Regions from separate parts of the Homo sapiens genome. Here regions 2, 3 and 4 are each linked to region 1. The links are contacts of gene promoters, found by promoter capture Hi-C in human tissues and cell types (Jung and others, 2019). All regions are on one chromosome and are shown on one strand. The core of a region is centred on a gene start or on the middle of the fragment in contact, and the rest is flanking DNA. Distances in the headings are between cores, read along the strand shown.

Region 1 (5,885 bases), core at 1,192-3,691:
GCTTAGATATTTCTTTGGCCAGATACCCCAGTTTCTCTCTCTCAAGTTCAGCCTTCCAGAAAGCCCTCAGGCATAGAACAGTTCAGCTAAGTTCTTTGCCAATTTATAACAAGGATGGTCTTTACTCCATTTTCTTGTACCTTGTTCCTCAGTTCCATCTGAGACCTTGTCAGAATGGCCTTTACTGTCCATAGTTCCATCAGCATTCTGATTATGACCATTTAACCAATTTCTAAGGAGTTCCAAACTTTCCCTGTTCTTCCTGTCTTCTCAGCCCTCACTAGAACCTAGGCTTTTTCTAGACTGCTGCTTCATTCTTGTAGCCTCTGCTCATTATCCAGTTTCAAAGCTGCTTCTCCATTTTCAGGTATTCGTTTTCGTTAACACCCCACTCCCGGTACTAATTTCTGGTCTTGTCAATTTTCTGTTGCTTAGAACAGACTACCTGAAACTAGGGTGATTTATAAAGAAATGAATTTATTTCTTACAGTTCTGGAGAATGAAAAGTCCAAGGTCAATGGGCCACCCTGCTGGTGGGGACTCTGTGCAGAGTCCCAAAACAGTGCAGGGCATCACATGGCAAGGGGGCTGAGCCTGCTAACTCAGGTCTCTCCTTCTCTTCTTATAAAGTCACTAGTCCCACTCCCATGATAACCCATTAACTCATTAACTCATGAATCTATGATTTTAGTGCCCTGAAATACTGGGAACTTAGAGAATAATAAAGAAGTAAAGTAGGAATAGGTAGATGGGGTGGAGAGGAGGAGAAAGAGAGCAGAGATTCCTTCCTTCTGACCTAGCAGACATTCCCAAGACATATGGACTTGTTCCAGTTATATATTGCTGCATAACAAATCACCTCAAAACTTAATGGCTTAAAACAACAATTTTTAATTATTATCTTCACAGCTCTGGGGGTTGGTTAGCCAGTTTTGCTCAGGGTCTCCAATGCAGTTGCAGCATCTAGAGCTAGCATCATCTCTCACTCATGTCTGGCACCTAGTCTGGGAAGATTCTAAGATCCAGGGCTAGAACAGCTGTAGCTCTTTGGTCATCTCCTTTTTTCTTTACATGGTCTTTCTGCATGGTTTCTCCAGCTTCAGGGTAGCCAAACTTCTTTTCAGGCAGCTCAAGGCTTCAAAGGTAAGTGTCCCAAGGGAGAGAGCCAAGTGCAATCTGCATTGCCTTTTCTAACCTAGTCTCAGAAGTCAAGGCAGTCACAAGTCCAATCCAGGTTTAGGGGAAGCAACAGACTCCACCTCTTGATGAGGGGTGCACCAAAGAATCTGTGGACATATTTTAAAACCACCAGAGAACTTCACACGCCTCTCTGGCAGAAAATCCAGGACAGAATAATGAGTCATTCACGAAACCACAAATTGCTTCACTGTGGTTTCCCTTTGGCTATGGGGGAATAGTGCAGTGTTTAAAGGCTCCTGCTCTGGAGTTAGGCTGCCCGGGCTTGCCTCTGCCCTAACACTTACTAAACCTGGAACCTTGAGCAGGTCTTGGTACCTCAGTTTTCTTACCTGTAAATTGGGAACAATGAGAGCTAACAGTTGTTGAGCACTTACTAGGTGTCAGACATTGTCCTAACTGCATTATGTCTGCTCTCCTTTTATATGTAAGATAACTCTATGAGGTACTTATCTATTAATACTTCCTAAGTCGTAGGATTGATAATAAAAGAGGCATCTTCCAGGTCTGTAGTGTGGATCAAATGAGACCATCTATTATGTTCGCTCTTGGCATTATTAAAGCTGTTGGGGGAAATTCTAGTGATGCCTGGCCAGTAGAGTGAGCCGTTTCCAGAAATTGACCCAACGTACACAATGCCACACAGCGTGCAGACTCTTCCCAGTACAGAGTGGGAGCCAAGATGAGGGCTGCGAGGGCCAGGTTTCTTGACAGGTGTCAAAATTTCATAAAAAGGCCAGTCATTCCGGTTCTCATTGGTGGCTATGGGTACAGAACCCGGAACAATCCTGGAGAGTGGGATTACAAGCACCGTTTTGAGTTTGCAGAAGGAGAGTGTTTATATAGCTTCTCTGGAAAAGGAAGCCATGACTCCGGGCGGTCGGAGAAGGTCTGCCGGGAGTACACCTGCCCTCTGCCTGAAGCGTCCCCAAGTGTCCCGGGCCCGCGTCGTTGCCGGATGCACAATGCTGACACCCTTCCCGGGGGCTTCCAGTGTATTCTGCCTCCTCTTGTGTTCCCGTTGCCACCCTTAGCTCCCTGACTCTTCCAGCCACCTTCCCCTCCTCCCTCTTCCCTGAGGTGCCTCCTCGGGCGATTCCAGAGCGCCCATCTTCCCAGTCCGGGCAAAACCCGGAGAGGTGGAATCCCTCGCCCGGAGCGCCCCGGCGGCCACTGGGCATGCTCCGTTGTCAGGCAAGTTCGGGGCTGCAGGCAGCTTGCGCGCCGCGCGGATTCCAGCTGCGGTCGCGCGTACTCCTCCTCCCAAGTAGGGAGCGGGCGCATGATGGCGGCCGCGGCGGCAGCGGCTGCGGGGAGCTCCAGCAGCGGCGGCGGCGGCGGCGGCAGCGGCAGCAGCAGCAGCAGCAGCGACACGTCCAGCACCGGCGAGGAGGAGAGGATGCGGCGCCTCTTCCAGACGTGCGACGGCGACGGGGACGGATACATCAGCAGGTACGCGGGGAGGTACGAGGAAACCGACAGGAGCGAGATCAGTCCCTCCGCGCGCCCTTGACCCCTGCTCTGCCCCCTCGCCCCAACTTGCGGCAAGTTGCTCAGAAGCTCGCGGGAAAAGTTGGCCGCGACTCCGAGAGCGCGTAGCCGGCTCGGCCACGAAGGCCGAGGGGACTGCTCTGTTCGCCTTGCGGGGGTGCCAGTTGGTCCAACTTTTCCCAGCGCTGTCTTTGTCTAGGCGTTGGGAGACATCTCCTTAGGATGCGCACTCTTCCGGGGGCTTGGAGTGTTCTTCCCTGTGGGAAAAGGAGTTCTGGCCGCTTGTCCCAGGTAGGAGGGGCTGCCCCACAGCCTCGGGGTCCTGGGCATCAAGATGCCGCAGCACGGGGCAGCGATCTGCCCGGCGGCTTGGTGGACACCCCAGGGCCGCACCGGGAGGAGATGAGCTAAGCGACAGCCTCGGACAGGGAAATAACCTGTGAAGAAACTTTCTTGTGCCGCAGAACCCATGAATTCCAAACTTCAGAGCCCAAAGAATGGGTATCGTTTGCCACCCAGTATTGATTTAAACGCAGTAGCCTGAGAGGAACGAAGCGCTCAGGAGCAAACTAGGGCTAGACCCGACTCCTACCCGGCTCTGTGCGCTGACCAGGTGAGCTTCGGCGTGGCTCCGGGCGCCTCCGCGCCTCCACTCACAAACAAACTTTGGGGTGTTTGCTTCGGATCCCCCGCACTTCCTACAGAGGCGGTATTTAAGCTTCCTGCCTCCCGGCTTGGCCAAATAATTACTTCTGCCCAAATTTGTGTCACTTAGACTCTTGTGGTGAAGAAGGCAATCGCAACATTTTCTGGTATGCTTCTATTGAATGGTTGACACCGGCCATTGAAGACTTGGTATCCGTGGAAATTTGAATTGCCTTGGATGAAGGAGCAGCCTAAGTTGTGCATTACATGTTTCTTTAGTCTATGTCTTGGTGATGCTAAAGATCGTTTCTGAAAATCCGGGGCTGCTTCCTGATTGTCCCTGCCTACCTAAAAAAAAAAAAAAGAAAGCAAAGTGCGGAATTTTTCCCTTAAAATAAAAAAAATTATTTATTTGGGACTCAACGCAATTTTGATCATTCTTAGGTGAATTTTTATTACTTTGCTAAAGTTTTACTGAGAAACATTAGGAAGATATCAGAAAACTTGATGGAGTAATTCTGTTCGGAAATGAAAATAATATGTAATTCTGATTGACTCCATGCAAATTTCTATCTGGAAGTCTCGTTATTTTGGTTCTGGGAGTAAAAGAAATTTCATTATATAGTTTTCCTTTTTGTTGTTTTCCTACTTGAAAGGTTATTATCTCATTTGCAATAATAAAGGCAAACTCCAACTTTGGATACAATTTTTTTTTTTTTTAGACAGAATCTCGCTCTATCACCCAGGCTGGAGTACAGTGGCGTGGTCTTGGCTCACTGCAACCTCCGCCTCCTGGTTCAAGAGATTCTCCTGCCTCAGCTTCCCGAGTAGCTGGGATTACAGGTGCCCACTACCACTCCCGGCTAATTTTCGTATTTTTAGTAGAGAAGGGGCTTCACAATTTGGCCAGGCTGGTCTCGAATTCCTGACCCTAAGTGATCCGCCCGCCTCGGCCTTAGGAAGCGCTGAGATTACAGGCCTGAGCCACCGCTCCCCGCATGGATGCAAAAAAGTTTAATTTCACACGGGCAAGAGTGCATACAGAAAACTAGCAGCGTGCTATCCTTTTCTAATTTGGCCTATTAATATATTGCTTTATCTGAACTACACTTTCTATATAAATGCTCACATTATTTTCGGTGATTCTACCCGGGAGGATAATGAATTCTGTAAGCGTAATTTGAGTAAAGTGGGTGGTGATAAAGAAGCCGTTTTGGATTAGAGTAGAAACTGGCTGGGGCAAAAGTGGAAAAAGTTGTTAACATTCCTTGAGCTGCATTACTTTAATGTGTCTGCTTAAAAGTTTCAAGGTATGTGTAGTAATGAACCCTAAATCATAACTTTAACTGTGGGTGGAGCTGCCCTGAAAATTATGCTGTGGCAGAATTGCCATGTAGGAGAAGTTTAGGGATGGCAATCTAGGGCAACAAGGAACTTGTCTGGAAGTGTGTTTACCTGGTAAGCACAGTTTTACCTGGAATTTACGTTTATGTGGTAAGACTTGGGGAATGGGGCTAATGAAGGTAAGGGGCATTAAATGATTCCCTCTCTGAAGCCACTTTTCTGTGCTGCTTTCATTTAATGACCTGTACTTACCACTCTGTAGTGGGTGATGTGGTTTGGAGGGTTGTGCATTCCTGTTCTATCAGACATGAGAGTTGGACTTTTTAACATTAAAACCTTAAAAACTTTGGATTCATCTAAAGACGTTAAATTTATGTTCCTGGTAGACAGCTGTATCTGTTAGAATTTCAGATGACTATATGTCATCACAGTAACCTAACCATAGTCAAGTAAGGGTTGGCTTTGTCACCTAGTAGAAATCTGGAGGTAGGCTATCTAGGTTGGGGCAGCAGCTCTGCGGTGGTGTCAGTCCCCAGCTACCTTCTACCTTTCTCCAACACCATTTTTCACATAAAGCATTCATCCTCATGGTTATCTCATAGTCCAAAGGTGATTGCCCTGTCTCCCTCTTCATCCCCAAATTCTAGGGAAGAAGATGTAAAAGGAAGTGGAAATAAGTTGTGCCTGTATCATTAAAGCAGAGCTTTCCCAAATCCCTTAATTGACATCTTATTGGTCAAACTACATCACTTAACCATGCCTACTTCAGTAGAGTCCGAGGAAGCATATAATTCAACTAGGCACATTACCTCCTAAACAAAATCTGGGTTCTGTTACTAAGAGCAGGAAATAGATATTGGGTGGGCAAGTAGCGGTTAATACCTATAATAAACCCCCCATCCCATGATAATCCACATTCAAGTATATTTGCTCTGGTCCTCCGCTGAACCCTCATTCTAAACAGGAGTAGGCTGGAAATCTTAAGTGTGGGGGAAGGATAAGTGGAAGAGAAACTGGGCCGTGAGGGGAAATGTCAGGGAGGTAAGGGGTGGTGCTTTGTGCTTTCAATATTCTCTTGGCCCAGTCTTCCTATCAGGCTGACAAAAAAGGCATCAGCTAACTAGATTCTTGGAATTGCTGCTTCTGCCAAGGAACTTTAGCCTATAAAAGGGACCCAGAATCATCCCCATCAATAGTTAAGGTAGAAC
Region 2 (6,418 bases), core at 3,578-6,077, 370 kb after region 1:
ATTCCTTAGGAAGTTGTGTTGAGAAGTGAGTTGGGAAATAGTCATATTATGTTTGAGGTTGTAGAGAAATATCCATGTGTAAATATCTGGTATGATGTATTTTAAACTGCAGGGTGTGACCTACTGTTGGGTCTTGAAATTACATGAAAAAGTATTTTTAAATGAAGGCTAATAGGAAAGCAAGTGACAGTATTGTTTCATGAAATTTGTTTCTTGCATCCTTGTAGGCAGTAAGTTGCCAAATGAATGTTCTAACTGGGTTGCAGTCAAAATGTTACAAAACTACTGGTCTTGCCTACCTGGATATTTGGAAAGAGATCGAGGTTGAGGGAAGAGGCTTTGAAGTTATCTGAGCTAAGGTGATCCCTGTGGTTGAAGGGTGTGGAGTCAAAAGAGGGAGGAGCAGCATATCTTAGGACAGACATGTTTACATGTATGGGAGAGATGGAAGAAGAACCAGGAGAAAGAAGAGTTGCATATAGTCAGTTTTCTTGAGTTTTATAATGAGTTTTTCTTGGAAGTTAAAATTTTGTTGGGGAGAGGGATTTTAATCAAATATTACATATTTGGGTTTAATTAAAATCCTATAAGTGCTACAACATTATGGAACACAGTACTATGAGAGTGTATCCAAAGAAATTTGATTCAGTCTAGGGTTACAAGAAGGCTTCCTCTAGGAAGGCGTTTGACCTCAGAGCTGGAGGATCAGTAGGAATTAAGCAGGTCAAGGAAGAGAATAGCATCCAGTGAGGGAGAGGAATGCATTTAAGGAGGTGACTGAAGATCCTCATGGATGGAGGACACAGAGGTGTGAGAGGGGGACTGGAGAGGTAGGCAGGAACTAGGCCATGCAGAGTCTTACAGGCCATGACAGAGACCATGTTTGGCCTTTACCCAAAGATCCACAAGAAGCTACTGAAAGATTTTTTAATAGTGGGGGAAGAGAATGAGATAATCAGATTTGCATTTTGAATCAATCACTGTAGTGTGGAGAAAGAATCCATAGATGAAGAATGAGTTGGGGAGGCTAGCTTGGAAACTATTGCAGAACTCTAGATGGGCAAAATTGTTGCTCAGATTAGGGTGGTGGCAGCTGAGATTTAATAAAGATGTAAAATTGGCAAGATTTGCTGAAGGATTGGAAACCGATTGAAGGTGGGGGGTGTGTATGCCCCATAAGAGTTTGTTTGTACAACAGATGGATAACAGGGCCATTCGCCAATAGGGCACATAGGAAGTAGGACCAGGTGGTTTTGCTTTGAGTTTTGTTTTGCTTGGGGCAGGAACTATATGATAGGTGGAGATCGTGTTTTGTTTGCCCATGGGTTTATAGTGTCTTGAAGTATTTGAGCGGAGGTGCTTCAGAAGGCAGTAGGCATTCAGATAAAACACCAAGAGGAGAGACCTGGGCTGAAGAAAAGCAGCTGGGAGACATCAGGGTGTTTGCAGATGATAACTGTTGACTCTGTCATTGCCCCATTTGTATCTTACTATCACGTTGACATTTTAAATTATGTAATAGTATTTATTTGCTTGACTGATTCTCCCACTAAATTCCACTAGGCGGAAGCATGTTTGTTTCATCTCCTAGTATATCTTCAGAGATTATCACAGGGCCTGGCACATAACATGTGTTTAAAGATAGTAGTGGGAATGAATGAATGAGGTAATAAACCAATCCACCAGTCAGCCAGCCAAAGATGAAGGAATAAAATGAGGAGAGTGGTATTCTGGAAGCCAGTGGGGCAGAGGAGGCTCTAATAAGGAAGGAGCGATCAGTAGTCTGGATTGCATCTAAGGCCAAATAAAATACATCAAAGCCATTGAGAGCTGTATGTTGGTACAGCTTAAGCCAGGCAGAATTATGTTGAGGAGTGAAGACACTTCCCCCAACTAAACTGAACCCAGTCCCCGGGCTTTATGTTACAATACACACAACTCCCTGCAACCAGACCATGCATATGCCAAGTTCATACCAGCATGCTAAGTTCATACCAACATGCTAAGTTCATAAGGGCATCATAAATCTCTAACCCTGGCAGCCCCAAGCTTCAGGACTCTGTCTTCTGCCTTAGCCAGACAGATTTAAACAGCCTAGAAATTGCTTATCATTGTAGAATGTGAGCCCTATACTGATCCCGCCATTCACTTCTCTCAAATTGTATTTTATGGAATTAATAAATGACCTGTACTCCAACAAAGTTCCATAATTAAATAAGTTTGGGAAGTGCAAGGATAAACACATTTACATGGATGTCTTTCCTGTGGGGCTTCTTGGACCTCCTGACTTGAGGTGGCGTCTGTTGCACTGGTCCTCACACAGAAGGCAGTGTCCACCTATCTGCGCCATGGGGCATCCTCATTTTCCCAAACCATTCTTTTCATTCCGTCCCTCATTTAAAAATACATGGGTTAATTATAACTGGTGGTAGCCTCTTTCCTGAGAAGACTGAGTTCCTGGAGGGGAGTGACCTTCCCTGCCCAGTGTTGACACATGTTCTCTGCCCACACATAGAAGCTTTTTTTTTTTCATTTAGTCAGCAAACTCACTTGGGGCTGTGCTAGGTACTGGGGATGAAAGACAGAATCTGCTGTCAGGTCATTGTGCTCCCACCCTCAAATCCTTCAAGCCTAGAGTGACTTCTAGCTTCCTCAGCACGCAGCCAACAGGGCGGTCCCTGCTTCTGGCCGCCTCCTTGGCCATTTGTCCTGTTTTTCTTCCAGCTGCAGCCACTCTGGCCTCCTGGCTTGCTGTTCCTCCAGCCTGAGCTGCTTCTCCTGCCCGGGGCTCTGTGCTGGCTGTTCCTTCCGCCTGGAGCCCTCCTTCCTCGGCAGCTGTCTCCACCAAGGCCCCCCGCCCTCCCCTCTAGAGTCATGCCTCATCCCTCACTCTCAGGCAGCCACTTGCTTCCCTTTCCCTGCTTCATTTTCTTTCATAACATGGAGCACTCCCTGAGGATGGATTGTGTTTGTGCTCATTTCCTTGTGTGTTATCAAGCTTTATCTGGCTGTCATGCCAGAGTGCAGGCTCCACGCGGGCAGGGACTTCACCTGCCTAATTTACCAGCATAGCAGTTCCTGCACGTAGGAGATACTCAAATACTTGAGCAGCAGTGAAAGAACCCCATCCCAAAGCTCACAGTTGTTTGGAGGATGCAGACAGGTCCACAGGGAAGACCTCACAGTGCAGTTAGGACTCCATAGCAGGCCTGCAGTGGCCCTGGTGATAACCTCGGGGAGGAGCATGGAAGAATGCTTGCCAGAGGTCACAGCCGAGCAGGAATCTGGGAACTGAGTGGGGTCGGAGCCCATGAGGAGGAGGGTGCACCGGGCAGGGGCAGCTCTGCCAGATCCCCCAGGAGGACAAACACTTGGGCACAACAAGGAGGAGTTCATTAAAGCTGCTCACACAGTGCCGTCAGTGTGTTTGTTCATCGGAACTGGCTGTCTCCCTCTTCTTATTCCTTCGCCATTTTCCAATTAAATTTTTTCAACAGGAAAAAAGCTTCCATATGTAAGCACCATTATAGGAAATCATTTAAAAGTAGCCATTTCATTATAGTTGCTATATTTGCAAACCTGCATTAGCAACCCAGAGGTTTTCTTGAGCTGCAGAATTTGCTGCAGTGTATTTGCCGATCTCCAAAGATAACAGGACTAAGTCCAGCCTATCAGCTTCATCAAAAAGCACTTTTCTTTTGTTTTCATAACCACCCATCAGAGTCCAGCTGCCCCTTCAGTAGGCTGGTTCCTGGACACTGTCTTCCAAGCCTGGAGGAATAAACGATCCAATTAAAAAGTGCTTTGACTTACTAAGCAGTCAAATAAAGGAGAAAGGTGCCAGCCTCTGTCACACTGCATGTTTTTTTTAAAAAAATTACCTCTTATCAAACCTCGTCACACATTGTTCAGAAAATAAAGGTAATTAAGTGGACAAAGCCAAGGTAGGAGTTATTGCTTAGAATTTTTATGTCCTCCATCTGGCAAAGGCTCGCCGTTAAAAGAGAGGGTGGGTATACCAACTAACATGCTTTGCTCACTTACCCTGTGTCAAGCATTTACATGCATCCCTCATGTTTAATCCCCAACCTGGAAGGATGCCCTGGAGGTCTCTTCATCTGTAAAATCAGGATAATGAAGTTTGGAGAGGGTAAGTCACTTGTCCAAGGCCACACAGCCAAGAAGTTGTTTTTGTTGTTGCCGCCTGTGTTTCTATAGATGGCTTTCCTTTGATACTCCTCGGTTTAAACAGGAAGACATGCCAGTGGTTGATGTCATTTGCTTACTGCAGTCCTTTGAGGTCTCTAGGGCTGATGGGGGAATTAGGGAGCAGCTGTGTGATCACAAGCACCTGGCTTAATAGTGAAGCATTTGCAATCAGATTTTGCGGCCCTTCATATTAAAATAGAAACAACACTCTTGGACCCAATGATTCTGGGTATTGCAATAGAGCAGAGCACAGATGTGTGCACACAGACTCATTGCATCCTGCATGTTACAGCATGTTTGCTGTCCTTTCCTGTGGACCATTTTCCCCACCTCTGTTAACGCAACAGCAGTGCTTTTCTGGAGCAACTGTTTCCAAAACAAACAAAATCCCTGATGGTATGGGCCTTTGCACAGCCAGTGAAGCATTCTGTTATTTTGAGATCTCTTCTGATTTTGGGTGAGAAATTTTTATTTTTCTGGAATTTAGCAATATCAAACTATTATACCCTCAAGGTTGAAATATCAAACCATTATACCCTGAGGGTTGAGGTTTATACCCTTAGGGTTGAAATCTACTCTTATACCCGCAAGGTGTCCTATGCATAGAATACCTTGCTTTCTGGTGTGATCACTTAGATTTTTCCTCTGTGTGAATAGGTTTTGGAGGACAACCAAGGAAGAATTTCCACATGAAACCTGGTTTTTTGGTGCGGTTGTGACTGTGAAATATGTTTGATGCTAAAGCCAGATTCTCCTGGCTTACTGGCTGATGAGGCTTAATGGCTTCAGGAAAAAATGTTTACAAGTGTCAAGCAGCCACTCAGAGTGAGGAGAGAGGGTCGGGGCAGGGAAAGGCAGCCCTGCCTCTGCCAAAAACAGTTTTTGCAGACCTGGAGAAATGTGTTTACACAGGTAAGGCAAGCTGTCTGGAGAATACTCACTTTTTGCTAGGAATGAGGTGGCTAGATAGTCAGTGATCCTCTAGTCCACAGACTGAAAGGGTTAGACCGGACTGAAAGTTGTACTCTAACTAGTTCATGTAACAGGCCAAGCCCTTTGTTACCTTTTTCTTTTCTTTATGTGGGCAACTTAATTTCTCTGGAGAGGGTCACAATAGGGATCATCCCTGAGAACCAGTTAACAGTTTGAACATTGATTCACTGGAGCACTCTCTGGGGTGACTGTGTGTTTTCTCCTAGGGATCTGAGCCTGGTCAAATAAGACCTGTCTGCAAATGGTAGCAGAGCTAAGTGACTGAGGAGAACCCCCTGAAGTCATTCCAGAATCTTCCTTAGAGTAACCAGGGTTGAGAGCAGGAAAGGTTATTGTTCTACTTCAGTTTGTGTTACTTTGGAATATTTTCCCCAAATTCTGCTGTTCCATAACTTTTCAGTCCCCAAAAGAGACTTGGGGTATAAGATGGAAATGGAAAGGCATTAATCTACAGCATTTACTCAAAATGAGCTCCCACAATTCTTGGGATTCATGAACTTCTCTTCTATTAATAGCATAAACAGTCTTTATTTTCTAAATAGACCATGTCTTTTAAGGTTGATTTGGTTTTGGTTATTTGAAATTCATGACATAATTTTTCTTAAAACCAGCATTATAATAAAGGAGTGTTAGCTCCTGAAACCAGCCTTGGAAAGCCTGTGTAATCTGTCATGGAAATAACTTCGGGACCTTGCTAGTGTTGTTACCGCATCCCCAGCCATCATTGTGAACATTGCTGCTATGAGAAAATATTTTGCAGATCACATATGGATGCCAGAACCACATCTTCCCCCTCCTCCTGGTGGCGTGGAAATCCTCTCACTCCTGTTAGCATGAGGGTCACAGGGCCTGGGATGAGTGCTAATGGAGGATCCACTGTTTGCTGTCAAGGGCAGGAGACAGCCTATCTAAAGGGGATCTGGAGCTGCCGCAGGTGACCCAGGCACTAAGAAAGGGCCATTTGGACTGGAGGTTAGTGAGCCTGGGGGAGAGTGGGCAGAAGTGAGGCCTGAGAGCTGGGCTGTGGTCAGTGATGACAGAGAGCCATGGAGGCACAGTGAAGGGGTTGGAATTTATCCTCTAAACATACTTGTAACTATTTCTTCAAGATTACTTCTCAAAGGTATTGAATGATTAAGTCTTTTCTTGTATATTGTCAGTTGCTGTCCCTTCTCTACCCCAAAGATTTCCTCTCATCCTCTTCAAAACTGGGTAT
Region 3 (6,220 bases), core at 2,538-5,037, 330 kb after region 1:
GAAGATTGCAACGACCCTTGTGGCTAACAGTCTGCCAGCTGATGTTGTGGTTAAGTGATTTGCCTGAAATATTTCATCTAATCTTCTCAACTAGAATGAGTGGGTGTTGTTCCCATTTTAAAGATGAGTAGACTGAGGCTTAGAAAAGTTAAACGAGTTACCCAAAGCTGAACTAATACTCAAGTCCAGGGTATTTTGTTTTTGCATTTTGACAAAGCCTATGTCCTTAACCATGAAACTGTTTTTTCATGTTGTTTTCTTTCTACCTAATCTCTTTCCCATTCTCTTCATTTTCTGGGAACAAAGTGATCCGAGTTGGGACTATTGTTGGCTGGGTTAGAGTGATTGGAAAGGAAAGAAGATTCAGACCTAAAAGCCATTCCTTCTTTCTATCTAAACACACTGTTCTCTGAAGCAGTCAGCAGGGCCCCATCAGAGAGGGAACACGAAGCAGATTTGAAATGTGTCTCCTCCTCTCCTGGTGCTTTGGATTAGATGTACCAGCAAACGGTAAATGGCCCATCCGTCAGCAGCCCTGTGGTGAGGCAAGACAAGCCAGGGCCTGCCTGGGCCTTCCCTGAAACGGAGCATGCCGTGGCATCAAGCATTTTAAAACTGATTTTCTTTAAATGAAATAATGCATATTAAAGTATCTTTTAAAAGATGGGAATGCATTTAAAAATGATTGTATTGAATATCTAAATAGCTGACATCTTGGATAACTCTTACACTTTAATTAGAAGTCTGGAAGCATGTGCCTTGAGTTTTATATATACTCTGTATGTGTATATGTTGGTAATTGCATGTCTGTGTGTATGGGTATGTGTAGACACACACACACACACACACACACACACACACACACACACACACACACACATAAATCTAAACCTCCATTTGCTTTCCCAAACAAAAAGTATTGTCCTTAATCCATTAAAATCTAGGGTCTCTTCAAAGCACTTCAACCATTGCTGTAAAAATACTTTGGCCTTTCCTGATCTGTGGAGTTTATTGACTGTTTCACCACTAAAGGTACTTGGTTTCTCTAGAATGGGGAATTCAATACCTGCTAAATTGGATCAATATAAAAATTTATGAACAATTCAGACCTTGTCAGAGAACCCTTTTATTCATGTTCATAGAATTCTCTGTGGGAGTTTCCGCCTGGGGAATCACATCAGTATTTAGCGTGCACTGAAATATTCATGTCCCCTGATTAGCTGGATTTAATTGTTACATCTTCATCTCCTCCATGATGTGTCATTAGGATGCAGCCCCCTTGAAATTTAAGTTGGTGCAGCCAGCTTAGTGCAGTGTCTTTATTTTGTCTGTGTTTCTTTCCAAAAACCCTTGTATAACCACATAATTTTCGTTTCCCTTGAAAATAAATATTACTACAAGTTAGGATTTTTTAGTGGAAAATAATAACTTATTTTTAATAGCTACTATTGTCTTACAATATTTGTATAGGAAATTTTTACAAAATATATAAAATATTCTTCTGTTTAGATTTTTAATTTTTAAAGATCACATCAGTTGAAGGTAATAACCTTTCCTTTTCTGTAGTCTTTAAGCAGCAAAGTTAGGTGTTTGTAAGGGCTTGTTTTACCTATACTACAATTTTGTCCTCTTTAACTTTCCCACATAGAATGTAGGAATAGCTGGAGATTAATTTTTCACGGATTCCTTCCTGGGTCTGATACCAGCTGAATGGTCTTCTATTTCTCAAAATGTTTAAAGTTTTAAAGAATGAATACCTGTCTATCCCCCATGCTAATTGTGCTAATTCTGCTTTCTTCTCTTAACAGAATAACCCTCTGAGATCTTTCTTCTCAACAGTTTCGTGGGTATTTGCAAGGATCTCAGAAGTGCTATGATATTCTGTTGCAAAGCAGGGGACTTGGTAGTTATGAACAAGACCCTGGGGTTAGACAGACCTGGGCTTTCATTCTGGCTCTGTTACTTACTAGCTTGACAAGTTACTTAACCTCTAAGTCTCAATTCCTACCTCTTTAAATTGGAGATAACAGCACTACCCATCTCATAAAGCTATGTGAAGAATAGTTGAGAAAAATGCATGTTATATGCTGAGTATAGCAATCTAGCACATAGCAAGCAGTTGTGTTAGCCAGTAAAAATTACGATGGGACATATTTTCAGGGGAGCATATGTTTACAGATGGGATGGGATTGTGGGTCATCTTTAAAGCTGATTGTCAGTCTCAGACACCTCTCCCCCTTGGGAGCCATTTCCTAACCATTTATTTGAAGAAGGGGAGGTGTGGCTTTAAGTGGGTCCTAGGGACCAGTATGACAGCTTTCACAGTGAGTACCTGGGCCTGCTTTGTGATCTGGCACTGTTCCCTATATCAGCCATCCTTGGGTAGGGTTAATCTTTCTTGTATAAATGGTGTCCCACTGCTGCGGTGTTGAAGGAGCCTTTGAATGCTGTTTTGAGCAACTGAATTTCAGCTGAGGTTTAAGAAATAATTCAGGGGCCACTGACCTCTCAATGAAATTATCAGGTAAAAGGAAAGATGAAAAGCTGCTGCTTTCTGAGTTGATCTAGGGCACACAAAAGTGATTTCCATGCAGTGAGACATCTTTAATTTATAATTTAGATTATATTTAATGAGTTTTAACTTTCAAGACTATGAGCAGCATTTCTTGAAATACTACATAGCAGGTGCCCCTAGCTGGAATTCCGGTAGTAAAGAGGAATGTTCCAGTCCTAGAAGTCACTGAACAGGCCTGATGGTATCCATCTAGCAGGGAACACTACCCTTTTGCCAGGCATTTTGTTCTGTATGTATCTGAATTAGAACACCTGGGTGTGGAGTCTTGGATGGGAAGCTGAATGAGGCTTTTTCATGTGCAGATGTTTCTTGCTGTCTCCAAGGATAGCTGGGACATACATATTTTATTGACTACCCACGAGCTCTTGGATTGCCATTGGGAGAGAGGTAGCCTCTGGACAGGGAACCAGGAAATCTGAATTTGATGAACCTTGAACCTCTCTGAGTCTCAGTTTCATTTCTCTACAATGAAGGAATTGGACTAGATGTTCTCAAATTCCCTTGCCAGTGGTAAGACGATGTGTGATTCTGAAAACTCATTCCATTTTTAGGGAAAAGATCTTGGGTGAACAGTTCTGTATAGAGTGAAGCTTCCTTAAATATTTGAGCTTCAGCAGATTTTTCTGGGACCAGTGGACAAATAAAGTATGCAAAGCCCATAGTGCAGAACTCAGGTGCCTGGACAGGTGAACATGCCAGGCAAGCATGTTACAAGTTTAAAACCAGAAGAATCTTAGAGGTAATCCGATACAAACCCTTCTACAGAGGACAAAAAAGCACAGAAAGGACAAAGAGAATCACCCACATTTATACCAAGCTGAGCCCCACGCTTCATCACAGCATTGGAGGACTTGCCCTGCCACCCTTCTCGCTCCCACCCAAAATCACATGGGTGCTGCCATCACGAAAACCCTGACCCTGCTTCTCCCATGTCTTCAGCCCTGCCTGTGCACACACCTCACCCCCGCCCCACATCCACCCCTCCACACACACATACATGGACACAAGCAGGTTTACGCATCCCTCGGGCAAGGGAGAGCCGTGGTATGTTGAGTTGGAGGTGCCAGTGATGCACATAGTGGAGAAGATTTGAGCATAGGGTCCTTGTGTGTTATTATCTCCGGTACTGTTAGGTTGGAAAAAGTAATTGCAGTTTTTGCCATTGCAATTACTTTTGCACCAACCTAATATTTATTAGTTTTCTTCACTTCGGCTGATTTTCTACCCCTCTTCTGTGCCTTGGTTTCCTCGTTTGCCAGAAGGAGGTAATAACATATATCTCACAGCATTGTGGTGATGGTTAAATAAGATATGGCATGTAATGTGCCTAGCCCAAGCCCCTGATACCAATAAATATTCAGCAAACGGTAACTATTAATATTATTACTTTCATTATTACTGCCTGGTGACCTGGAATTCTCAAGAATATTCGCAGATTTTGGCATTGGGATTTGACACTGCCTTTCCTCTGCAGCTGATGGAACAGGTAAAGTGTATGAAGCATGCAGTGCGGAACCTGCCAAAAATATGTATTCAATGAAATTAAGTTCAGTGAAATTAAGTGTCCTTTAATGAGAGAAGTTGGCACTACCCATTGTCACTGGATGAGAGAAGTTGGCACTACCCATTGTCATCACTAAAACATAAGCAAAAATTGTGCATACTTTGTATCTGGAAAGCAAGTGGCTCAGCTAGAAAGACAGAATAGTACAGTAGTCCCCCCTTACCCATAGTGTCATTTACTTGCAGTCAACTGCAGTCTGAAAATGTTAAGTGGAAAATTCCAAAAATAAACAATTGGCAGGTTTGAAATTGCAAGCTGTTTTGAGTAGGCTGATGCATTTGCGTGCTGGGCTGCTTTGTCCGACCTGGGGAAGGGCTCCTTCCTTTGTCCAGCATATCTGCACTGTCTGTGCTCCCCACCCATTAGCCAGCTGGGTTATCACATCAAATGCCATGGCATCACAGTGCTTGTGTTCACGTCATCCTTATTTTACATCATAATGGCCCGAAGCATAAGAGTAGCAGTGCTGGCATATTGTTAATAATTGGTCTGTTCTATTAATTATTTTGAATCTCTGACTATGAATTAAACTTTATCATAGCTTTGTATGTATAGGAAAAAACAGTGTATATAGAGTTCAGTACCAACTGAGGTTTCAGGCGTCCACTGCAGGTGTTGGAGCAGACCTCCCTCCATTAAGGGGGAGACCACTGTAACTCCTGTCATTACTCAGTGGGAAGGCAATAGATGCACGCTGGCAGTGAGTGTTAAACTAGCACTTCAAGTAGCCAGACCAAGTTAAGGAGAAAGAGAACAAGCACAGTTTACCCCAGATGAACTCACTTCCCAACAAAGCCGGGAAGACTGGCCCAGCCCTCAGCACCATGAGGTGCCTCAGCAGCATGAGGTGCATGTATCTAGATAGGGCCTGTGGGGATGAACTCATTCCTCTGCCTCACCTGTGGCTGCAGGTGCCTTTGGGCCCTTTGAAGACTGTGCTGTTCAAAGCACAGACTGAAGTCCCACAAAGATGAATCTAGGTTCTCCACCATTTTATTCAAATCGTATTCCTTTTTACCAACTGTGTTTCATGGGAAAAATAGTTGTCCCTCAGCAAATCGGGAAGCATAGCTTGCCCTTAGGCCACAGAGTCCTGGCGTGATGAAGGTCAGAGGAGATGGTGCCTGGAGAGTGGTGTGTGCACTGGGTAGTGTAGGCATGTCTGCTGTGTTTATTGCCAGGGTTAGCAAAATGCAGAAGCACCTAATAACCAGAAATACGCAGTGACACTCCTGGAGGGGCTCTCATCAGAGTCATTGGACTGCAGAGTTCAAGGGCACCTTATGAAGTGTGAAGCCTTTTGTCACACAGCAGATATGTAACGGAATAGACATCTATTCACTTAGCAAAGGAGATACCCCTGGGAGAGTCTGTCATGAGGGCACTGCTCACTTCTTACCTGGGCTCAGGGGGGCTGGACACCTTTCCTCTCAGAGGCTAAGAGGGCTTGTCCTTAGAGTCAGTTGAACAGTGAAATTATTTTACTCAAGTTATGTTTTATCCAAAAATAACCATTTTGACAGTTAGCTTGCAGCCAAATGTCCAGGTGGTTTAGTTTCGTTTGGATACACACTGTAAAATGAATGTGAAGCAGGGCTCAAAACAGCCTAGGGAATTAGGGCCTTTTATCTCCAGAAATGTGAGGAATGTGTGGATCTATATCCTTCATGCACTAGATCCAGATTTGTATACAAAGTGTCAGGGTTCTATCCAACCTCGTTTAGGCCTCATGTTAAAATTTCACAGAGAACTAAGAGCCCTGGCTGTCAGCTCCTTAAGCCTTAGGATTTCAGCAGAATCTGGCAACGCAGCTATTGGCTTCTTAGTCCTGTGCTATCTACCAGGTGATAACGCTTCTCCAGGACAGGACTGTTTTCCTAGTCTGAGTGTCCCTAGCACCTCTGATGGGGCTTGGTCTGCCTGAGAAGGTTGTTGACTTCAAACAAACCCGTTTGTTGAGTGCTTACCTGGTTCCAGCCACCCTGCTAGTCACTTTCTGGATGCCATCATTTGTCTTGACACAGCCCTACAACAAAAGGGATTAAATTGTGCAAAGACAGTCCACCAACAAGTGGCATAGA
Region 4 (6,710 bases), core at 2,672-5,171, 350 kb after region 1:
AATATGCTGTGATGGGCCAAATGCAGTAGGAACTAGGCACCGTGGATGAACTCTAACTGCCCTAGCATACCCACGGTCTACAGAATTGCTTGTCATACTGGACAGACACAGTGGTGGTACCATTGTAGACTTTGGTGTCACTTAAATCTGGCCTCAGTTAAGAATTTATTGGAGAAGCTAAAAATCATTATTAAGGGCATAGTTTATATAAGCTATGATATATCCACACTTAAGCTATCCTGAATTGCTTAAGGAAAGAAAATGACAATCTCATAGTTTTCTATCTCAGGTCACAATCAAAGCACCAGGCACCTTCTGTGACTGCCCTAAAAGACTCCCATCCCTTACAGTCACAGTGCTAATGTAGCCAAAAATCAGATACTGCAGGTTGCAGATGCTAATGTGAGTTGAATTCATGGCCACGTCAGATCTCTTAAGTGAAGATTAAGCATTGGTAGGAAAAGGTGAAATCGTGAGAATTTGAACAGGGACATTTGGGTAGATTCAAATAAATTCAAATACCTGGAAACTACAAATTCCACTGAGCTCTCCCTCCTACAGAAACAATTCTCCCTCCTCATCTAATAAAGCAAGTCCTATTTTGCTTGGAGACTCTGTAACTATTTCATCCCAGGTAGGAGGTGGCAAATATAATCATGTCCCATTCCTACTTCATTCATCTTTATCTTTAGGCCTAAAAGTGGTCAAATATCATCATGTCCCAAAGAGATAAGTAGAAAATCCAACTTGGAAAGATACAAGTAAAGCACCAGAAGATTTGTAAGATTCCATTAATTTACATTTAATAAAACTCGGGGAAGTTTTATTGTATGTTCCTTAGAGATGCTGGATAGACCTTTGATGCATAGTTTGCAAATATTTTCTCCCATTCTGTAAGTTGTCTGTTTACTCTGTTGATAGTTTCTTTTGCTATGCAGAAGCTCTTAAGCTTCATTAGATCCCACTTGTCAATTTTTGCTTTTTTGCTGTTGCTTTTGGTGTCTTTGTATGGTGGTGCACACCTATAGTCCCAACTACTCAGGAGGCTGAGGCAGGAGAATCGCTTGAACCTGGGAGGTGAAGGTTGCATGTGTCTTTATAGTAGAATGATTTATAATCCTTTGGGTATATACCCAGTAATGGGATTGCTAGGTCAAATGGTATGTCTAGTTCTAGATCTTTGAGGAATCACCACACTGTCTTCCACAATGGTTGAACTAATTTACACTCCCACCAACAGTGTAAAAGCATTACTGTTTCTCCACATCCTCTCCAGCATCTGTTGTTTCCTGACTTTTTAATGATCGCCATTCTAACTGGTGTGAGATGGTATTTTGTTGTGTTTTTGATTTGCATTTCTCTAATGACCAGTGATGATGAGCTTTTTTTCATATGTTCATATTAATTCATGTGTGAGATTAGGAACTAAGGGTTCTAGACCAGGGAGGGAGGAACTCAGTTGGACCGATGACGACTTTATTGATAGGACTTTTCCTGTAAGAGATTCTGGATTGAGTATGTTACTATGTTATACTAATCAAACTAGTATTCACCAGTTTGAATAACTGAAAACTAGGCTCAACAAAGGACTCTGCATTAAATTATGTTGAAATGCCAGAACTTTGCTAGTATAATCTAGAAAAAGTTTAGAAGCCTGAGGAATCAGCGATGTTGACTGGGAGATAATGTCCTTAAAATGGGGTCCTTGGTACCACTGAACAAACAGAGTCGAAGTGGGCTTGGTTACTATATTGGTCAACAAGGGCACAATAGTAATCAAAAAAGTTTGACCTGCTAGGGATAGTTGTAGTGGCTAAGCTTGAGATCTCTAGAACTGATATAAATGGGCAGCCTACTAAAGTTTTACTAGATCATTATAGTCAAACTCTGGTCTGGTGAACAGAGACTTTACTTGTCATCACAATGAATAATCATGGCCTCATCCAATTCCCTTACCTGGATAACAGGCCAGTTATAGAACCAGAGTCCCCTGGATGAAGGGGAAGATGTATCAATCATGCCACAAGTGAGTACAGTAAACTTTCCTTTTACCCCTTCAAAGAGAATGGCAGGTACTTATAAGGGAGAGTGTGCAGTGGGGAAAAGAGAGAACCATATTCTTAGGTAGATTACTAGACATTGAATCTAAACTGATGATAACCCATGGAGCTTCAAAATATTTGTGGTTCACAAGTCAGAGCAGGGACTTAGGAAGGCATATCAGTCAGCTTGGGCTGCCATAACACAATATCATAGACAAGGTGGCTCACACAACAGAAATGTATTTCTCACAGTTCTGGGGGCTGGGAAGTCTAAGATTAAGACACAAGCTAATTATTTCCCCATTGAGGCTCTGTTCCTGGCTTGCAGATGGCCACCTTCTCACTGTGTCCTCACATGGAGGGAAGAGAGAAAGAGGAAGCAAGCTCTCTGCTGTATCTTCATATGAGGGCACCAGTCCCATCATGAGGACCCCACCCTCATGACCTCATCTAAACCTAATTACCTCCCAAAGGCCCTGTCTCCAAACACCATCACATTGGATGTTAAGGCTTCAACATAAGAATTTTGGCGTGGGCCAGGCGTGGTGGCTCATGCCTATAATCCCAGCACTTTGGGAGGCTGAGGCAGGCAGATCACTTGAGGACAGGAGTTTGAGATCAGCCTAGCCAACACACCCCTCTCTACCAAAAAATACAAAAGTTAGCTGGGCGTGGTGGTGCGTGCCTATAGTCCCAACTACTTGGGAGGCTGAGGCAGGAGAATCACTTGAACCCAGGAGGTGGAGGTTGCAGTGAGCCAAGGTCGCACCACTGCACTCCAGCCTGGGTAACAGAGAAAAAAAAAAAAAGAATTTTGGGACGCAATTTAGTGCCTGGGACCTTCTGTGACTACCCTAGAAGACTCTCCCATCCCTTATAGCTACAGGGTAATGTAGCCAAGAATCAGACAATGCAGGTTGCTGAAAGTCAGGTGGTAAGTCGCATTATGGACTCAATCCAAATCATAGTGGACCTAGTGATGGCACCATCTGAGAGGTAACCTTTTTCAATGCCCTAGAGATGTGGTAAATGCTCCGAACTAGCAACAGTATATGGTGCTGTGTTTTGTGGATTGAGAGAATGGAAGTGGCCCTTCTTATGAATACACCTAAAAATCCACTTAAAAAGTTGTTGCTTCTGTTACCCTGATACCAAACGCAGACAGGGGCATAACAACAACAACAACAAAAGCACCAGTTTCAGGCTAATATCACTAATGAAAATAGAGGTAAAAATCCTCAACAAAATACTAGCAAACCAAATGCAACAGCACAATAAAAAGGTCATTCACCATGATCGAGTGGGATTCACCATAGGGATGCAAATACCATTCAACATATGCAAATAAATAAACACAATATACCACATTAACAGAATCAAGGAAAAAACATGATGATTTCAGTAGATGACAGAAAAGCATTTGATAACCATCCCTTTATGATAAAAACCCTAAAATGGATACAAAAGGAACATATTGATATGGTTTGGCTCTGTGTCCCACCCAAATCTCATCTTGAATTGTAATACCCACATATTGAGGGAGGGAGGTGACTGGTTTCTTCCATTCTATTCTTATGATAGCATAAGAACGAATTCTGACAAGATCTGATGGTTTTCTATGTGGTTGACAGTTCCTCCTGCACATGCTTACACTCTATCCTGCTGCCTTGAGAAGGTGCCTGCTTCCCCTTCCACCATGATTATAAGTTTTCTGAGGCCTCTCCAGCCATGCTGAACTGTGAATCAATTAAACCTCTTTCCTTTATAAGTTACCCAGTCTCAGGGAAGTTCTTTATAGCAGTGTGAGAACAGACTAATACACATATCTCAAAATAAAGGCAACCTATGACAAACCCATGGCTAATATCATAGTGAAGGGGGAAAAACTGAAGGCCTTTCCTCTAAAGACTGGAATAAGACAGGGATGCCCACTTTCATCACTGTTACCCAACGTAAAACAGGAAGTCCTGGCTAGAGCAATTAGGAAAGAAAGAAATAAAGGGCATCCAAATTGGAAAGGAAGAAGTCAAATTCACCTTGTTCGCAGAATTATCCTGTTCACAGATGATATGATCTTATATATAGAAACCCCTAAATACTCCAACAAAAAACTTCTAGAACTGATACATTCAGTAAAGTTACAGGATACAAAATCAACACGTTAAAATCATTTTAGCATCTCTATGCACCAATAACAATCAGAGAATCAAATAAGTCAATTCCATTTACAATAGCTACAAAAATCTAAATTTTAGATCTAAAAAGGTTTAAATTTTGATTCCTTGCTTGCACTCCTAGCAGGTAAAAAATAAATAAATAAATAAATTTTGATTCTTATATAATTCTTACAGCAGCTCCTAAACCAGGAGAGCTACGATTACTCAAAGTCCTCAACCAAGTAATTCTACCTATAGGAATATCAATGCATGTATGAATCTTATCAGAAGATGTCTTGCACCCATGAGCTGTACCATCAGTAGGTCTATTTTTATTTATATTTTCTTATTTCAGATCTCTGTTTACATCACTAGGTCTAAAAGCAGACTTCTTCAGGAGTAGAGATTGTTGATTACTTCATTAAATAAAGAATTCTAACCAGCTGAGATGCTAGCTAAAGAAAATAAGGATTTCCTAGTAGGAGAAGGAAGGAGTAAATATCAACTGTAGCCTGTAACCAGCTATAGCCTGTAATCAGAAGCAATGGCTACGCTATGCATATATTCTTGCTTTTATGTATATATGCATGTCCCTTTTTCCTCTTACTTTCTCCTACTTAATTTTTATTTATTTATTTATTTTTGAGACAGAGTGTTGCTTTGTTGCCTGGGCTGGAGTGCAGTGGCGCAATCTGGGCTCACTGCAACCTCTGCCTCCTGAGTTCAAGTGATTCTCGTGCCTCCCCCTCCTGAGTAGCTAGGATTACAGGTATGCACCACCATGCCCGCCTACTTTTTTGTGTTTTTAGTAGAGATGGGGTTTCACCATATTGGCCAGGATGTTCTCGAACTCCTGGCCTCAGGTGATCTGCTCACCTTGGCCTCCCAAAGTGCTGGGATTACAGGTGTGAGCCACCACGTCCAGCCTCTCCTATCATTTTATATAGGATGAGTTGGTATTGGTGAAACTCATAATTTAGTAGGTAGGTTACGTATCTAGGTGGGTTTTAATAGCATTTATATATGCCAACAGTGAAGAATCTGAACACAAAATCAAGAAAGCAATCCTATTTACAATAGCTACAAAAATTATAAAATACCTAAGAATAATTTTTTTTTTTTTTTTTTTTGAGACAGAGTCTCACTCTGTCACCCAGGCTGGAGTGCAGTGGCACGATCTCGGTTCACTTCAAGCTCCACCTCCCAGGTTCACGCCATTCTCCTGCCTCAGCCTCCCGAGTAGCTGGGACTACAGGCTCCCACCACCACACCCGGCTAATTTTTTTTTTTGTATTTTTAGTAGAGACGGTGTTTCACCACGTTAGCCAGGCTGGTCTCGATCTCCTGACCTTGTGATCCACCCGCCTCGGCCTCCCAAAGTGCTGGGATTACAGGTGTGAGCCACTGTGCCCGGCCCCTAAGAATAAATTTAACCAAAGAAGTAAAAGACCGACTGGGCACAGTGGCTCACGCCTGTAATCCCAGCAACTTGGGAGGCCGAGGTGGGCGGATCATAAGGTCAGGAGTTCAAGACCAGCCTGGGCAATATGGTGAAACCCCGTCTCCACTAAAAATACAAAAATTAGCCAGGTGTGGTGGCAGACGCCTGTAGTCAGCTACTCAGGAGGCTGAGGCAGGAGAATTGCTTGAACCCGGGAGGCGGAGGTTGTAGTGAGCTGAGATCGGGCCACTGCACTCCAGGCTGGGAGACAGAGCGAGACTCTGTTTAAAAAAAAAAAAAAAAGAAGTAAAAGTTCTCTACAAGGAAAATTACAAAATTCTCTCTAAAGAAACTGGAGAGGATGCAAACAAGTGGAAAGATCCCCATGCTTATGGATTGGAAGAATTAATATTGTTAATCTATTTATGCCTAGTGTTCCATTACTGGAACGCTAAGCTTGTGGGAGTTATTTATATCCTACTGCTCAAGGTCATCACCAACGTCTGATTTTTCACACACAAAAAAATTTCAGGCTCCAGCACAAATGGGTTAAAATGTTAATACTACCCAAAGTGATCTATAGAGTCAATGTAATCCCTATCAAAATACCAATGTCATGCTTCACAGAAATAGAAGAAAAAAAAAATCCTACAATGTTTATAGAACTACAAAAAAAAAAAAAAAAAAAAAAAGCCCAAATAGCCAAAGCCAATCCTGAGCAAAAAGAACAAAGCTGGAGGGATCACACTACTTGAGTTCAAATTATGCTACAAAGCTGTGGCAACCAAAACAGCATAGTACTGGCACAAAAGCAGACACATAGAGCAATGAAACATAATAGAGAATCCAGAAATAAATCTACTCATCTACAGTCATCTCATTTTTGACAGAGGTACCAAGAACATACAATGGGGGAAAGAACAGTCTCTTCAATAAATGGTGCTGGGAAAAGTGGATATCCATATGCAGAAGAATGAAACCAGACACCAATCTCTCGCCATATACAAAAATCAGAGCAGATTAAAACCTAGACATAAGACCTGAACTATCAAACTACTCAGAGAAAACATT

What was found. Contacts are between HindIII fragments. The study calls those that stand out against the background at their distance.
Region 2: a fragment that was not itself captured here is called in contact with the fragment with the promoter of MCC in region 1 in 1 of the 25 tissues and cell types used here (mesenchymal stem cells).
Region 3: a contact is called between a fragment that was not itself captured here and the fragment with the promoter of MCC in region 1, in 1 of the 25 tissues and cell types used here (mesendoderm cells).
Region 4: a contact is called between a fragment that was not itself captured here and the fragment with the promoter of MCC in region 1, in 1 of the 25 tissues and cell types used here (bladder).

The regions. Positions count from the first base shown.
Region 1 is chr5:113,485,009-113,490,893 of GRCh38, reverse strand. It overlaps MCC (MCC regulator of Wnt signaling pathway), which reads left to right and starts at 2,441. Exons shown (of 19, transcript NM_001085377.2): 1 at 2,441-2,649. The coding sequence starts at 2,480. RefSeq lists an enhancer at 2,248-2,542. The HindIII fragment of the contact is 5,374 bases long and covers 1-4,757 here.
Region 2 is chr5:113,115,815-113,122,232 of GRCh38, reverse strand. All of the region lies in intron 6 of MCC (MCC regulator of Wnt signaling pathway), which reads left to right. Among named protein-coding and RNA genes, the nearest start is that of DCP2, 140 kb to the right of the region's middle. RefSeq lists an enhancer at 2,729-3,236. The HindIII fragment of the contact is 3,150 bases long and covers 3,253-6,402 here.
Region 3 is chr5:113,156,281-113,162,500 of GRCh38, reverse strand. All of the region lies in intron 3 of MCC (MCC regulator of Wnt signaling pathway), which reads left to right. Among named protein-coding and RNA genes, the nearest start is that of DCP2, 180 kb to the right of the region's middle. The HindIII fragment of the contact is 8,331 bases long and covers 1-6,220 here.
Region 4 is chr5:113,134,177-113,140,886 of GRCh38, reverse strand. All of the region lies in intron 5 of MCC (MCC regulator of Wnt signaling pathway), which reads left to right. Among named protein-coding and RNA genes, the nearest start is that of DCP2, 160 kb to the right of the region's middle. The HindIII fragment of the contact is 5,074 bases long and covers 1,385-6,458 here.